2 separate regions of the Homo sapiens genome follow, and region 2 is linked to region 1. Evidence: promoter capture Hi-C in human tissues and cell types (Jung and others, 2019). All regions are on one chromosome and are shown on one strand. The core of a region is centred on a gene start or on the middle of the fragment in contact, and the rest is flanking DNA. Distances in the headings are between cores, read along the strand shown. Region 1 holds the start of ZNF100 (zinc finger protein 100). Region 2 holds the start of LOC124904670 (a long non-coding RNA gene).

Evidence for each region. Contacts are between HindIII fragments. The study calls those that stand out against the background at their distance.
Region 2: a fragment that was not itself captured here is called in contact with the fragment with the promoter of ZNF100 in region 1 in 2 of the 25 tissues and cell types used here (aorta and bladder).

Annotation. Positions count from the first base shown.
Region 1 is chr19:21,763,873-21,769,352 of GRCh38, reverse strand. ZNF100 (zinc finger protein 100) reads left to right here and starts at 1,774. Exons shown (of 5, transcript NM_173531.4): 1 at 1,774-1,926; 2 at 3,567-3,659. The coding sequence starts at 1,924. RefSeq lists a silencer at 1,610-1,787. The HindIII fragment of the contact is 21,319 bases long and covers 1-5,480 here.
Region 2 is chr19:21,564,102-21,569,472 of GRCh38, reverse strand. It overlaps LOC124904670 (a long non-coding RNA gene), which reads left to right and starts at 217. Exons shown (of 2, transcript XR_007067182.1): 1 at 217-3,644; 2 at 4,992-5,371. The HindIII fragment of the contact is 5,586 bases long and covers 1-4,051 here.

The DNA.
Region 1 (5,480 bases), core at 525-3,024:
GTAGAATGATACTGATTGCAAAATGACATTTTTTCATCCCTCTTGTATCTTTGCCCATAACCAGGTGCTTTTACAGCTGTTTCCATCAAGATCTGGAATCTGTTTTCAAAGCCCTATATCTGGCTGACCTTATTTGCTCAGGTCAACAGAAACCTGTGAACATGACAGTGGGCCAGTTTGGGGCCCAGGCTCAAATGGTATTGACTGCTTCTCTTTTTCTTTTAGAATGCTGCCATCTCCATGAATAATGCCCATGTTAGCCAGCTGGAAAATAAGATACCATGAAGAGGAGAAGCAAGGTGCCCCTGTTGACAGACCCAGGAGCAGAAGCTCACCCCCAGATGCACAGCTGTCTAGTCAAAAAGCAGGTGATGATACATGTCTGAAGGAGCTCAGCTGAGACCAGAAGAATGGCCCCACTCAGCTCGGCCTAAATGGCCAACCATTTCAATTATAAACTAATAAGTTTTGGATGATTTGTTATGCCTCAATAGCTAACTAATACATGCACCCAGTACAGATAAGTTGCCAGGATTCAGTGACAGGTTGACTAAGAGTTGGCTTCTAACAGTGGACACCCTCTAGGTACTGATTTCTTCCCCTGATTTAAAGTTCGATGTTTTGTAAGAGAATTTTGGGTAATGCAGAAATACCTGTAGACATGTATGCGTGTGATTGGTGCTTAGACTCACATAGTCCCCCACACCACAGGAGAAAACAGATAAACACAGCCTGATTGTTAGGGCCAAGACCATATAGCAAACTATGTTTGTTTTTAATCTATTTTCTCCATCTCTAAATACTGGAGTTCAAGTGTGTGGACAGAACTGAAGACATAGTTGTTTTTTCTCCTGTGGCCCCATCATCCTTTGTTCACTATCTGGTCTCTAAAAGAAAGGTGGGCAACAGGTGGCCAGCAGTTGTTTATTACCTGTGGCTATTTTATTCCTACTGCCCTCAGCTCTTTCTATGGGAACTATCTGGTCCACCCTAGGAACCAAAGAGAGATGTTTGTAGGGAGAGTCTCTTCTTTCACTCTCGCAGGAAAGAGATGTTCAGGCCCTTCACACCGCTGACATCAGAGCTGCACTTCAATGTGACAGCTATTGTCCATGTGTGGCTACTGGGTTCCCACAATGTGCCTGGTCTGAAATGCGATATGCTAGAAAGGTAAAATACAAAGTCAGCTTCAAAGATTTAGTTCCAAATATTTATATATTTTATCAATAATTACATATTTCTCACACATTAAAATGATAATATTTTGAATATAATGGGTGAATTACATTGTTAACAATCAGTTCAACTTGTTTCTTTTTAAAGTTTGGCTACTAGAAAATTTCAAATCCACATGTGGCTGACATTCATTTTAGATGATTTTCTCTTTTCTAAAATCTCAGGCTGCCTGCTCAAAGGGCCAGAAGCCAGGAAGGTCATAAAAGCTGAAATTTTAAAATAATTGTTATATTCTTTTCACTTGTGTATAGCTATATAATGTATTATTTATTTATACATATGACCTTATACACAAATTTAAAGGCAAATACTCTCTGGGATGGGCCTAGCTCAGCTGAGGGAGGAAGCCCTGTCAGAAGAGGGGGCAGTCTAGGCTGTCACTCTTTCTTCATTGAACCCGCATCTGATCACATCTTCTGTCACTCAAAGCCTGACAGGGCGGGGATTTAAGCATTATCCAACCAGGGACGCTGGGCTGGAAACCGTCCAATCAGGCATGCAGCTGGAGCGGACTGGACGGCTTCCGGGTTTGGCGGGGTCTTTGTCTCTCGCTGTAGCCGGAGCTCCAGGTTTTGCTCTCACTTCTCTGTGTCTTCTGCTCCTAGGGGCCTAGCCTGTGTGGCCCTCTGACCTGCAGATATTGGGAGATCCACAGCTAAGACGCCAGGACCCCCTAGAAGCCTAGAAATGGTGAGAGTGCCCGGTCCGACATCCCGAGAGACGGCGAAAGGGCTGGTTGGAACTGGTGGGAAGTAGCTGTGGCGGGACTCAGGCCTCTCCGCAGTCAGCTTCACAATCTGCGCCTTGCCCAGCTCGGCCTCCGTCCCCTTCGGCCATAAGATGGCGGCTGCGCTGACAGCCAGGACCCCAGGCGTCCTTTCTCTTCCCTGCGTAGTGACTGTGCCTTGGCCTGGAGCCCTCTCTTGGCAGCTCTGCACCCGCAGCGCCGCGTCTCTCTCAGATTGTGCAGGGACCACGGGAGGGTCGTCAGGGGAAAATCCTGACTCGGGGTGCGGGTTCATGAATGGGAAGATCTTTGGTCCGTGGCTTTCCCAGTTCCTCTTTTCTCCTATTAAAAATGTATGGGAGTCACTGCACAAATATTAACGATTTTTTTGTTTGTTTGAGACGGAGTCGCTCTGTCGCCCAGGCTAGGGTTTAGTGGCGCGATCTCCCCTCACTGCAACCTCCGCCTCCCGGGTTCTGGAGATTCTCCTGGCTCAGCCTCCCGAGTAACTGGGATTACAGGCGCCTGTCACTGGGCCGGCCTTATTTTTTTGTATTTTTAGTTGGGACGGGGTTTCACCTCGTTGGCCAGGCTGGTCTTGAACTCCTGACCTCGTGATCCGCCCGCCTTGGCCTCCTAAAGTGCTGGGATTACAGGCGTGAGCCACCGCGCCTGGCCTAAAGAATTTAATCAAACAGTGATTCAAGAATCATAGAGTATCCAGCTATGGTTTGTAGTTTGTTGTCTATGGGAGAGGCTTGAAGGAAAGTCATTTATAAAATGTATGATGAAGAAAACTAAATTTAGTAATTGGTTACAGTAACGTAGTTTCTTGATTTGTACAATACAGGTGAAGATTTCCTGGTTGTGTAATCAGAGGTTAATTAACAGTTTATAGTTGTTTAAGCCTACATTTTCTCTGAATGTAGTAATTAAAAAAAAAATGCACCTGAGTTAGATTTTTTTTTTTTTTAAGTAGGAACCCAGGGACTAGAGACACCTCAGTGGAATTGCCTGTCTCTTAATTATTTTCACACTCCACGGGGAACTGATTTTCTGCTGCATTTTTCACCTGTGTCCCAAGCAGGTTGTTAAGTCTAACCCCCGTCCCCCATTTCTCCAGCCTCACTCTGGCTTGCAGTAAGATACTAAATTTCCAATTTCTTCTGGCGTTCCCAAATGTCAACTTTTCCTTCCTAATTCACATTATCACCTATTTGTCCTTTAGTGTACTTGTTTATACCATATTTTAATTAATTGTTTTTGACAAAGCATTAAATGGCGCTTTTAAGAAGATGTGTTATCCGCTTGTAAATATTTCCCACGAAAAGGAAACAAAGACTAATCCTCTGACACTGTATTGTAGAAAATCTCTGTGTCTCTTTTCCTTTTACCTTCTCTAGGCACAGAGATTTATCAGAATGTTTTTGGGTCAAGGTTTTGATTTGGAAAAATCTATGGGGTGATGTGTCCTCAGCCACCCTTTAGTTTTTTCCTGGTCCTGGGTTTCAGTACTATCTGTGGATAAACCGAGATATCCGCCATGGTTCTGTCAGCTAAAGTGCCTAGTGAATGTCAGCTTCTGGTTTATTTTCTCCCGTAGGATGACCCGAGGTATGGAATGTGTCCTCTCAAGGGAGCAAGTGGATGCCCTGGGGCTGAGAGGAGTCTTCTGGTGCAGTCTTATTTTGAAAAGGTAACCCCTTGAGACATTAAAATTGTCTTCACCCAACCCAGCTTTCATTTCTTGGAGACACGTTGCTGGTCAGCCAATCAGATGCTGGTATTGAGGGGAAACACAAAAATAATTTCTGCTCCCTGGATCATCTAAGGGGGGCAGAAAAATAGTGAAATAAATATAAAGAAAAATATTGGAAAAAAAAGTGAAAATTTTGTTACCAAAAAGTATTCCAAAAGACAAACAACAACAGAACTGACCCCAGTGAGATGGTGTAAGAGCTTGCAAAGTAAAATGCACCTGGGGCAGTCACTGGGGCATAATGCAGTGTCTTCTGAGTGGGTGGTTCTTGAGCACATAAGTGAGCAGGAGTGGGTGGAAGAATCTCTCCAGTGATTGAATGACCTGACTTGAAACATGAGTCAGACACATCTGTTATTTAATCAGCACTGCCACTACCTGGGTTTGTCACCTTGAAGATATTTGTCACTTATTTTGACCTCAGTTTTTTAGCTGTAAATTGCATTATATTAGTAGGGCTTGAAAGGTAGAAAAATATTTACAAAGGTCATGAAAGAGGTGGGTTTCAGAAAAAAATGTCTGATCATGTATTTCATTTGTCAAAAATTTGTTAAAAATTCTCATTTACTGTTTTTCCCAGAGTGAGTTAGGAATTTTCTCAGGTGTGTTTTTTTTATGGCTGAGTGATTTCAAACAGAATTTCAAGGCTTAGCTTTTAGAATGCTCCCAGGCAAAATCTCTCAATTTTAGTTTTGGAAAATGAATACATTTCCACAAGAAAATGTGGTGGATAATTGGTGAGTTACATAGATTCATTAAAACATCAGTTTCTTTTTTTTCAGGGTAAATTTGTGACAGTGAATATCTGTGTTCAGATCCTGTTACATTGATTTTTGAGTTTTATGCTAAATTTTATGAGATGAAACTCGGTACTGTTTAGAAGTGCTCCCATATGACTCATTGTTTACAAAATAATTTTAAATGGAATTAATAAAGTAATACGTTTATTGTCTGAAAGAAATAGATACTTTTGCTTTTTTTTTTTTTTCCCCACACGGAGTCTGGTTCTGTCACCCAGGCTGGAGGGCAATGGCACCATCTTGGCTCACTGCAACCTCCGCCTCCCGGGTTCAAGTGATTCTCCTGCCTCAGCCTCCTGAGTAGCTGCGATTAGAGGCGCACCACTATGCCCGGCTAATTTTTGTACTTTTAGTAGAGGCGGGGTTTCACTATGTTGGTCAGGCTGGTCTCAAACTCCTAACCTCGCGATCTGCCCGCCTTGGCCTCCCGAAGTGCTGGAATTACAAGCATGAGCCACCATGCCCGGCCTGATACTTTTGCTTTTCTTATTGAGGTATAAAATGTAAGCACCTTAAAATTCCCTTCCCTTATATGAACACTGCATTTTGCTGGATTTTTCAGACACTTAATTTCAACAACCAAGTGAATAACTCTTAACATGGAAATTAGAGCTTGGTCCCAGTGACTCAGAGCTAAGGCTAATATTGAGCCTGCAGAAGAAATTTAATAACGGCCTTGTTAGTTTTTTCTGGGGAGTCTCTCCTGCAGATGTCCCAGCCTTCTCACTGCAGCCATGGAAGAAGCCTATCTGCTGAGAGAAGCTACAGAGTCCTGGAAAGCTGGGGGCTCACAGGCAGATGCAGTTAAGGTTAACATAAAAGGGGATTGGGAGGGTCTTGCTGATGATGAAGTTGTTATTGTTTTAAGGCAGTTTCTAGACTTTGTAATGTATAACCAAGTTCAATTTATTTAAAAAATTTGAATTCCAAAAAAGTATTAGAACAGGAGGAATACCAA
Region 2 (5,371 bases), core at 9-2,508, 200 kb after region 1:
TACATGCAAACACCCTCTAGGGTGGGCCTGGCTCAGCTCAGGGACGAAGCCCTTTCTGAGCGGGCGGCAGCTTAGGCAGTCACTCTTTCTTCATTCAGCCTAGCGTTTGGTCACATCTTCTGTCAATCACGATGTGAGGAGGCGGGGATTTAAGCGTTATCCAATCAGCAACACTGGGCTGGAAACCCTCCAATCAGCCACGCAGCTGGAGCGGGCAAGACAGCTTCCGGAATATGGGGGCCTTTGTCTCCGGCTGCAGCTGGAGTTCTACGTCTAGTCTTCAGAGGCCCAGTCTCCGTGACTTTGTGACCTGCAGGTATTGGGAGATCCACAGCTAAGATGCCAGGACCCCCTGGAAGCCTAGAAATGGTGAGAGTGCCGGGTCCGACATCCTGAGAAAAGGGAAGGAGTTGATTGGAACTGGTGGCAAGTGGCTGTGGTGGGACTCGGGTCTCCCGTCAGTCAGCTCCACAGTCTGCGCCCCGAGTTCTCCTTGGCCAACTCAGCCTCAGTCCTCTTCAGCCATAGCATGGTGGCTGCGCTGACAGCAGGACCCTGGGCTGAAGGTGTGGGTTGCCCCTCCACACCTGTGGGTGTTTCTCGTTAGGTGGAAGGAGAGACTTGGAAAAGAGAAAGACACAGAGACAAAGTATAGAGAAAGAAATAAGGGGACCCAGGGAACCAGCGTTCAGCATATGGAGGATTCCACCAGCCTCTGAGTTCCCTTAGTAGTTATTGATCATTCATGGGTGTTTCTCCAAGAGGGGGATGTGTCAGGGTCACAAGACAATAGTGGGGAGAGGGTCAGCAGACAAACACATGAACAAAGGTCTTTGCATCATAGACAAGGTAAAGAATCAAGTGCTGTGCTTTTAGATGTGCATACACATAAACATCTCAATGCTTTACAAAGCAGTATTGCTGCCCACATGTCCCACCTCCAGCCCTAAGGTGGTTTTTTCCTATCTCAGTCGATGGAACGTACAATCAGGTTTTATACCGAGACATTCCATTGCCCAGGGACAGGGAGGAGACAGATGCCTTCCTCTTGTCTCAACTGCAAGAGGCATGCCTTCCTCTTATACTAATCCTCCTCAGCACAGACCCTTCATGGGTGTCGGGCTGGGGGGCGGTCAGGTCTTTCCCTTCCCACGAGGCCATATTTCAGACTATCACATGGGGAGAAACCTTGGACAATACCTGGCTTTCCTAGGCAGAGGTCCCTGCGGCCTTCCGCAGTTTTTGTGTCCCTGAGTACTTGAGATTAGGGAGTGGTGATGACTCTTAAGGAGCGTGCTGCCTTCAAGCATCTGTTTAACAAAGCACATCTTGCACAACCCTTAATCCATTTAACCCTGAGTTTGACACAGCACATGTTCCAGAGAGCACAGGGTTGGGGGTAAGATTATAGATTAACAGCATCTCAAGGCAGAAGAATTTGTCTTAGTACAAAACAAAATGGAGTCTCCTATGTCTGTCTACTTTCTACACAGACACAGTAACAATCTGATCTCTCTTGCTTTTCCCCACACTGGGCGTCCTGTCTGCACAGTGACCCAGTGATGGTCCCCTGGCCTGGAGGCCTCTCTGGGCAGCTCTGCAGCCGCAGCGCCTTGTCTCTGGCCAATTGTGCAGGGACCATGGGAGGGTAGTCAGGGGAGAATCCCGACTCGGGTGAGGGTTCATGAATGGGAAGAGTTTTGGTCGGTGGGGTTCCTAGTCCCTCTTTTCATCTATTAAAAATTTATGGAGTCACCGCAAAAAGATTAAAGAATTTAATCAAAGAGTGGCTCAAAAATTGTAGAGTACCCAGCTATGGGTTTTAGTTTGTGGTTCATGGGAGGAACTTGAAGGAAAGACTTTTATAAGGTCCATGATTAAAAAAAAAAAAACAAATTCAATAATCGGTTAGGTACAGTTACCTACTTTTTTTTGTTTTTTTTTTTGAGACAGTTTTGCTCTGTCACCCAGGCTGAAGTGCAGTGGCGCGATCTCAGCTCACTGCAACCTCTCGGTGTCAAGCGATTCTCCTGCCTCAACCTCCCGAGCAGCTGGGACTACAGGGAGTCACGTACTTTCTTAATTTCCACTTTGAGTGTGTAAATTTTCTGGTTATGTAATCAGAGCTTAATTGGCCATTTATAGTTAGTTGGTTAAGCTTAAATTTTGTTTTCCCCAATGCAATTTACAAAAATTTACAAAAAAAAAAAATATATGTTTGAGGATACACACTTCACAAGAGACTGATTTTTTTTTTCCCCTGAATTTTTTAAATGTGTCCCAAGTGCGGTCTCAAGTCTAGCCCTCATCCCCCATTCCTCCAGCCTAACTCAGGCTTGAAGTAAAATACTAAATTTCCAGTTCCTTCTGACAATCCCAAATGCCAGCCTCGTTTCCCTAGTTCACATTGTCATCTATTTGTCCTTTAGTGTATATTTTCAATACTGTATTTTTTTTTACAAACCACTGGATGGCACATTTTAAAAGATTCATTTTCTGTTTGTAAATATTTCCCATGAGAAGAAAGCAAAGAATAACCCCTGACACTGTGTTGTGTAAAATCTCTGTGCCTCTTTTCCTTTTACCTTCCCTAGGCAGAGATCTTACCAGAATGCTTTGGGGTAAAGGTTTTTTTTTGGCGGGGGGAAGCTTTATTGGGTGATGTGTCCTCAACCACCCTTTAGTTTTTTCTTGGTCATCGGTTTCAGTACTGTCTGTGAATAAACCATTATATCAGCCATGGCTATGTCTGCTAGAGTGTCTAGGGAATCTCAGGTCCTGGGTCATTTTCTTTCATAGGACAGCCTGAGGTATGGAGTGTAGCCTCTCAAGGAAGCAGATGGATGCACTGGGGCTGAGAGAAATCTCCTGGTGTGCTCTTCCTTTAAAAAAGTAACCCCTTGAGACATTAACATTGTTTTCACCCAACCCAGCTTTCATATCTTGGTGACACATTGCTGGTCAGCCAATCAGAGGCTGGTATTAAGGGGAAAACAGAAATAATTTCTGTCCCCTGAATTCTCTAAGATTTGTGAAAGAAAAAATAGTATCCCCCCTAAAAAAAAAACAAAAGAAAACCTGACCCCAGAGAGATGCTGCAAAAATTTCCGAAAGTAAAACCTGGGCCACTCACTGGAACATAGTGCAGTGTCTCCTGAGAGGTTAGTCATTGAGCAGTTAAGTGAGCAGGCTGGGGTGGGAGAATCTCTCACGTGATTGGATGACCTGACTTGACACATAAGTCAGACACATCTGTTTTTTAATCATCACTGCTACACCCTGGGTTCGTCACCTTGAAAAGATTTGTTCACTTATATTGATTTCAATTTCTTAAACTGTAAATTGCATTTTATTAGTAGAGCTTGAAAGGTTCAAAAACATTTACAAAGGGCATAAAAGTGGTGGGTTTCAAAAAATATTAATATCTAATCATATATTTCGTATGTTAAAAATTCTTACTTACCTTTTTCTTTCCCAGAGAGAGTTTAGGAATTTTCTCAGGTGTGTTTTCTGTAGGTGATTTCAAACAGAATTCCAAGGCTCAGCTTTTAGAATGCTACCAAGGAAAATAATAGGGAAAATCTCCTTCGATTTTGGCTGTAGAAAATGAATACATTTCCACGAGGAAATATTGTAGATAATTGGTGAGTTACATAAATTTATAAAACATTAGTTCCTCTTTCTGCAGGGTAAATTTCTGAGAGTGAATATCTCTGTTCTGTATCCTGTTATCTTGATTTCTGAGTTTCATACTAAATTTCATGAGATGAAACTTGGTACCTCCTAGAAGTTTTTCCCTATGACTAATTGTTTACTACATTATTTTTAATAGAAATAATACAATAATAAATTTATTATCTGAAAGAAATAGATACTTTTGCTGTTCTTATTGAGGTATAAAATGTAGGCCAGGTGCGATGGCTCATGCCTGTAATCCCAGCACTTTGAGAGGTCAAGGCGGGCAGATCACGAGGTCAGGAGTTCGAGACCAGCCTGGCCAACATAGTGAAACCCGTCTCTACGTAAAATACAAAGTTAGCCAAGTGTGGTGGCATGCACCTGTAGTCCCAGCTACTCAGGAGGCTGAGGAGGCAGGACAATCACTTGAACCCAGGAGGCAGAGTTTGCATTGAGCCAAGACTGTGCCATTGCACTACAGCCTGGGTGACAAAGTGAGACTCTGTCTCAAAAAAAAAAAAAAAAAAAAGTAAGCACCTTATAATTTATTTTCCATGTATGAACACTGTGTTTGAGTAATTTTGCTGAATTTTTCAAACACTTAGTTTCAAAAATCAAGTGTATAACTCTGACATGGAAATTAAAGCCTGAGCCCAGTGACTCCAAGAAAAAACTAATGTTGAGCCTGCAAAAGGAGGTTATTAAGGGCCCAGTTAGTTCTTTCTGGGGAGCCTCCCCTGCAGAAGTCCCAGCCTGCTCAGCCCAGCTATAAAAGAAGCCTTAATCCTGAGGGAAGCTACAGAGCCCTGGAAAGCTGGGGACCCACAGGCAGATGCTAGTAAGGTTAAGATAAAAGGAGACTGGGAGAATATTACCAAAGATGAACTTGTTACTGTTTTGAGGCAGTTTCTTGACTTTTAAAAATAAAGTTGGATTTATGTAAGAAAATTCAGTGTACAAAGGAGCATTGCAACAGGAGGAAGTACCAACTATAAGATCTTTAAGGATTGCAAAGTTTAGGCAGACAAGGGCTTTCTTTCATAGGGAGGAGCAAACAAGATTAGAAAGAAGTTGGGAGGGCAATGGCAAGTGGAGGGTAAAAAAATCAGATTTTAGATCAGAGAATGTTTTTCCCTGAAGTCAGCATGTTCTTAGGAGGGATATAAAATGAAGTTTTATGTTGACTCAAAGTGAAGGTAGCTCAAAGTTCAGGAATCTGTGGGAAGGAGATAAACTTAACTGAAGTTTGCTTTATAAGTGTTTTATTTTGACCACTGAGGACAAATTCACCTCCTCTTTTTTTTTTTTTTAAGATGGAGTTTTGCTCCTGTTGCCCAGGCTGGAAATGCTATCGTGTGATCTTGGCTCACTGCAACCTCCCCATCCCAGGTTCAAGCAATTCTCCTGCCTCAGCCTCCCGACTAGCTGGGATTACAGGCATGCGCCACCACGCCTGGCTAATTTTGTATTTTTAGTAGAGATGGGGATTCTCCATGTTGGCCAGGCTCATCTCAAACTCCCAACCTGAGGTAATCCACCCGCCTTGGCCTCCCAAAGTGCTGGGATTACAGGTGTGAGCCACTGTGTCCGGCACCTTTTTTTTGAGAACAAGAAGAAAATGTGCAGAGTCTGTGTCTGGCTATGTGATAGGTAAGAAAAGACAGCACCATCTAAGTCATAATGGGAAGGGTGT